Regions from separate parts of the Homo sapiens genome. Here region 2 is linked to region 1. Evidence: promoter capture Hi-C in 16 types of primary human blood cells and fetal thymus (Javierre and others, 2016). All regions are on one chromosome and are shown on one strand. The core of a region is centred on a gene start or on the middle of the fragment in contact, and the rest is flanking DNA. Distances in the headings are between cores, read along the strand shown.

Region 1 (2,700 bases), core at 131-2,630:
ACTATAATCATGGGCAGTAATTCTCAGACTTAAGCCAGCTAAAAATCGCCTGTGAGAGCTGGTTACAATGCAGATGTCTGAGTCTCACCGCCCGAATTTCTGAATGTATAGGTCTAAGGCGGAGTTCAAGGGGATCCTCCCAGGTCTCAGGAGGTTGTACACTGAACATAGGTTGGTGGTCGCAGTTGTTCTACCACTGTGTGACCTTGACGCAGGGAGAGGAAATATTCATTTACAGAAAACGTAAAATAACGTGGAGAGAGAGTGAGATGGTAACCGGAACTCAGAAATGCAGGTGGTGTGTGACCCACGGTATTTTGCTAGGGTGTGGCTGGGCACGACTCATCCACCGGAGAAGCTGCAGAATCGATTTATGAGGGTCTCAGGAATGCAAAGACACACAGATTCGTCTCACCTAGAAGTCACGTTTCATTTTAATCTCCAAGCAGACAGCGCAGCAGCAAACCTGGGGCTGTGGAGTGGGGCCCCACACCCTCCGCCCACTCTCCCGCCCCCGTCCACGCCTAGACTGCAGGAAAGGGGTCTTCGCACACAAAGCCAGACCCCCAGGCGTGGGAAGATGGAACCAGAACAATTCGAACGAGCAGAGCAAAACAGATCGGAATTGCAGACTTCAGGTCGTGGCAGAGAAAACCAGCTGAGACAGGGCGCCACTTACTAGGTGATTCTTTATTCCAAGTTGGGGAACGGAGGAAGACGAGAGGGGGAGCCCCCGGGTCCGGTGAAACGCTCTAGGAGAAATGCGGCTCCTTCGCGTCCCCTAGGGCACCCTCTGCCCCCGGCCGGGTTCCGAACTAAGATGTGGCGACCCCGACCGGCCCGCCCCCCTTCCGGGGCTGCCTTCGCGATCCCGAACTGCACCCTCCCGGATCCCCCACCCTGGGCCCAGCCTCAGGAAGTGGCGGGGCGCCCAGCGGGAGCGGGAAGCGCGGGCTAAGGGCGGGCGGGCGGCCACGCCCAGCCGGGTCGCCGGGTCGCCCATGGCCGGGAGGGGAACGCGCCCGCGGCCATCCCCGTCCCTCCCCAACGCCAGGCCCCCCCCGGCCAGCCGCCCGGGCTCCCGGCGCGCTCACCGCCTTCATAGCGGAGGCCATGTCGTCGTAGCGCTCCGCCTGCTCGGCCAGCCGCGCCCGCTGCAGCAGCTGCTCCCGGTCCCCCATGTCGCTCGCGGCTCGGCCTCGCCTCGCGCCTCACACCGCTGGCTCGCTAGCCCTCCCGCCGGTCAGTCCGCTCCCCGGTCGCTGCGGAGGCCGCCGCCGCGCACGCGCACTGGCTCGCCGGCCGGCCGGAGGCTGCAGGCTGCAGGCTGCAGGCAGCGCCGCCGCTCGCGCCCTCTCGCTGGCTCGCCCCGCGCGCTGTGGCTCGCGCCGCGGACAACGCCGAGGGAGGAGACGCGGCCGCGCTGGGGGATGGGAGGACGGGACGACGCCTGCGCAGTGAGAGTGGCCAGGCCGGGCGGCGGGGAGCGGCGGGAGTGGGAGGGGGGAAGGGCGGGCCGGCCCTAACGGTCTATTTCAAGGTGACGTCACCTACTATAAATAGCCACCGCCGCCGCCGCCGCCCGGCCTGAAAGCCGCGCAGGCGCTCTGCGAGTGCTGCATTTTACCGCCGCAGAGATGGAGGTGGAGAAGGGAAAGCCGGGCAGGAGACTGCGGAGCCGGTGGAGGGGGCGCGGTGATGGCGGCTGCACAGGCAGTGCATTGTCATAGCCCCACCCTGAAACGCGCCACTCCATCCACGTTAGAGATCTGGCTTGAGAAGGGCCCCAAAAGCAAGCAAACATACTGGCGGAGAAGCCGGGAGACCGCGTGCCCCGAGGGGCGGGTCCGCCCAGCCCCGCCCCAGCCGTCCCGCCCGCCCCGAGCCCTGCCTGTCCATGCGTTCTGCTGGGCCACACCTTGTACTGGTCCGGGCAGGATCGAGTCCGACCCTCGGGGACAGCCCCGCTACACAGACACACACAATCGAACCCAACCTGAGACGTAGCCTTGGGCAGGCTGTGCCTTCCACCAGAGGAGGGGACTGGGTGGCCAGGGCGGGACAAGTAATATTCAGGACACATTAGGAGCCAGCCCAGTGCTAGTCCCGTACAAGCATCCTCCTCTTTAATCCTCACTACCCAGCCCACAGTGGGCACAGCTGGTCTCCCCATATTTAAAACGTGGAACCTGAGGAAAAGCGAGGTTAGTGACTTGCTCAGGGTTACGCAGCCTGTAAGTGGTGGGGCCAGGATCTGAGTCCAAACCCAGGCTGAACTTTCTCTTGTGGCAAAGAGCTGGGGTGGCCCAACTGGCTGGTCACTGAGCCCCTCCCAATCCTGGCTGGTATTGGATGCTGAGGGTCCCTTGTGCCAGGCCCTGGACTGGGCTGCCCGACAAGCTAGGAAAATGATGATTAAAACAAGGCCCCCACTTGATTTCAACACGCCAAGGGCAGTGCAGGAGAGGGGGCCTTGGGCTCGCTGAGAATTTTATTGAGCATCTACTGCATGCTCAGCCCACAGGGATAAGCTGGATCTTGAAGGAGAGTCAGGAAAAAGATTAAGGCCTGGGGTACAGCATTGGCAAAGGCTTGGCAGTGACCTGGGAGATGGTGAGAAGAGAGGCCTAAGAATGGGAAGTGAGGTTGGGTAAAACAAGATTACGGAGTCTTTTAAATGCCAGGCCAAAGATTTGAGGC
Region 2 (2,837 bases), core at 108-2,607, 54 kb after region 1:
CTGGGCACTGCCAGACCTAGGGTTTCTGTTTGTTTTTTGCCTCCCTGAGGCACAGTCTTAAGAGATCCTGAGAACATGTACCCCCAGACCTAGGGTTTCTATAAACTATAATCCACCCCTCATTCTCCCTTACCCCCATGAATTCAACAGTTTTCTTCAGCTGAAGTGGTCAGTTTAGTTCTGGGTTCTGCAGATAGAAGCCCTGAGTGGGTTTTTCTCACTGACAAAGATAAACAGCTCTTGCGTCAGCAATTTTAATGAGCTTCTGTTGTAAGGCAGGAGAGCTCCAGCTAGGTCACTAATGGCATTCAGGCAAACTGGCATTCAGCTGCCAGATGTACCACTCACCATTCTCTCAAAAGACTAAGTCCAGGAAGTGTGGTTAGCAAGATGAATATGAGAGCAGAGATTAACCAAAAGTTGACAGAAACCGGAGTAAGAGAACGCCTGAAAGAGCTGCTGAGCTAAATTAATTGAATGTGGCTGAAAGGATGAGTTGATAAAGATAATGTAAAGATAATGATTTTAAGTGATATGTTTTTTGCTTTTGCATTAAGAGGTAATTAAAGAGAAAGGACTAGAACACGTTATTGTCGATGACTTGGTGGCTGAAATCACTCCAAAAGGCAGAGCCCTAGTACTTGACAGTTTAAAGAAGGAGCTCCTACAAAAAAATAAAAACATTCCTTGCTCAGCCTGTCAGTCTTTAAGATTGACCTAGATTGTGTTGTTCTGTGGTATTATTTTTGAAAGTAATATCTGCCATAAATTAGAAAACCATTCCCAAAATAAAATTCATTTTTTAGCCGGGCATGGTGGCTCACGCCTGTAATCCCAGCACTTTGGGAGGCCAAGGCAGGCGGATCACCTGAGGTCAGGAGTTCAAGACCAACATGGAGAAACCCCGTCTCTAATAAAAATACAAAAAATTAGCCGGGCGTGGTGATGCATGCCTGTAATCCCAGCTACTCGGGAGGCTGAGGCAGGAGAATTGCTTGAACCTGGGAGGCAAAGGTTGCAGTGAGCCGAGATCGCACCATTGCACTCTAGCCTGGGCAACAAGAGTGAAACTCCATCTCAAAATAAAATAAAAATTTTAAAAATCTTTTTTTTGAGACAGAATCTCACTTTGTTGCCCAGGCTGGAGTGCAGTGGCGTGATCTCGGCTCACTGCAACCTGGGCCTCCCAGGTTCAGGAGATTCTTGTGTCTCAGCCTCCCAGGTAGCTGGGCCTACAGGTGCACATCACCACGCCCAGCTAATTTTTGTATTTTAATAGAGTTGGGGTTTCCCTATGTTGGCCAGGCTTATCTCGAACTCCTAGCCTTAATTGACCTGCCCACCTCGGCCCCCGAAGGTGCTGGGATAATAATGAGCCACCATGCCTGGCCAAAATCCCTTTTTGTATGATGATATATGGTTTTCAGTAGTGATGTCTATGTTGTATTGATTTTTTCCCCCAAATGTGTTATTTTAATAAATATCTCATGAATGGAAAAACAAACAAAAACCTAGAACATGCAAATGGGAAAACTTATTGATTTGAAGTTGGAAGATCTAAGCTCTGCCATTTAGTAACCATATGTCTCAGAGAGCATTGTTTCACCTCTCCTGATTTAGTTCCTGAACTACAAACTGAGATGTGCCAGCCCAGATGGTTCATAGAGACAGGATGAGAATCAGGTGAAGCATGGATGAGAAAGGAGTGTGGACCTCCTCTCTTGCCTTACCCAGCCACCTAACTTGTAACTCTCCTCTTTTCCTTCTGTTCCTGCTGGTCTCTTCTCCCAATTTAGGCCATTAGTTTGCCAATGTTCAATCTGAGGCCTGTCTGTGCCGCCCATGGACACTGGTTGGCTGTCTGTGACATTTAAGGCTAAAGAACTTGGTCACTCCAATGCTAAAAGGCTCATCAAAACTACATTCTGTCTCTGCTTCATGTTATGGATTCCTGATACTGCCAGAATAACCCTTTACTTAGCCAAAATCAAAACAGTGGCTCACACCTGTAATCCCAACACTTTGGGAGGCCGAGGCGGGTGGATCACGAGGTCAGGAGATCGAGACCATCCTGGCTAACAAGGTGAAACCCGTCTCTACTAAAAATACAAAAATTAGCCGGGCATGGTGGCGGGTGCCTGTAGTCCCAGCTACTTGGGAGGCTGAGGCAGGAGAATGGCGTGAACCTGGGAGGCGGAGCTTGCAGTGAGCGCCTCTGCACTCCAGCATAGGCAACAGAGCGAGACTCTGTCTGGAAAAAAAAAAAAAAAAAAAAAAAAAGAAGTTTTGCCCTCTGGTCTTGGACACTGTGTGTTTCTTCCCAAGTGAAAAGTCTGTGTCACAAAGACGAGGATATTCAATAAATACCAGCAGTGGCCTCATGCATCTCTTCTCTCCCATCTGGCATGTTAAGTTCAGAACATGCTGGCCTGGGCCAGGAAGTACGCTGTTCAACCAAGTGGTTACAGGCTGAAGATACTACTGGCCCTGTACTTTGGGGATAGATTTGGCAGTACATATGTTTCTAGCGGATTATGATGTTGATAAAGATATGAGACCAGCTGAGTTCAGCTTTCAGTAAGTTCATAGAATCATTACGTGAGTTCCATGAGAACCAACTTATTCACACAAGACCAATAAATACATGCAAGCCCAGAGGAGGAATAGGCTGAGCATCCTTCACCCAGGTCATAGCTAGGGGGTTATCAGTAACCTGGGGAAGGGGACAGTGTCAGCAGAGGAGAAAAATGCAACCCCAGGTAGGGGAGTGATACTCTACGTAACAATCAGAGGTGCCCAGGTACAGAACAAGCAGTCTTGGGAGTGAGTGCCATGTT

The links. Contacts are between HindIII fragments. The CHiCAGO score rates a contact against its expected background, and 5 or more counts as called.
Region 2: a fragment that was not itself captured here is called in contact with the fragment with the promoter of YWHAH in region 1 in 4 of 17 cell types (erythroblasts, megakaryocytes, endothelial precursors and 1 more); the score reaches 9.3 in erythroblasts.

The regions. Positions count from the first base shown.
Region 1 is chr22:31,943,215-31,945,914 of GRCh38, reverse strand. It overlaps YWHAH (tyrosine 3-monooxygenase/tryptophan 5-monooxygenase activation protein eta), which reads right to left and starts at 1,380. Exons shown (of 2, transcript NM_003405.4): 1 at 1,095-1,380. The coding sequence starts at 1,181. YWHAH-AS1 (YWHAH antisense RNA 1) reads left to right here and starts at 549. Exons shown (of 3, transcript NR_171018.1): 1 at 549-682. It overlaps LOC124900477 (a long non-coding RNA gene), which reads right to left and starts at 1,081. Exons shown (of 3, transcript XR_007068065.1): 1 at 680-1,081; 2 at 237-415. RefSeq lists enhancers at 410-459, 1,203-2,060, 2,061-2,700 and silencers at 780-1,119, 1,190-1,409, 1,420-1,509, 1,790-1,939. The HindIII fragment of the contact is 4,478 bases long and covers 1-2,700 here.
Region 2 is chr22:31,888,985-31,891,821 of GRCh38, reverse strand. The region is part of intron 38 of DEPDC5 (DEP domain containing 5, GATOR1 subcomplex subunit); the gene reads right to left. It also overlaps the pseudogene LOC124905101. Among named protein-coding and RNA genes, the nearest start is that of YWHAH, 54 kb to the left of the region's middle. RefSeq lists an enhancer at 22-556. The HindIII fragment of the contact is 3,008 bases long and covers 1-2,837 here.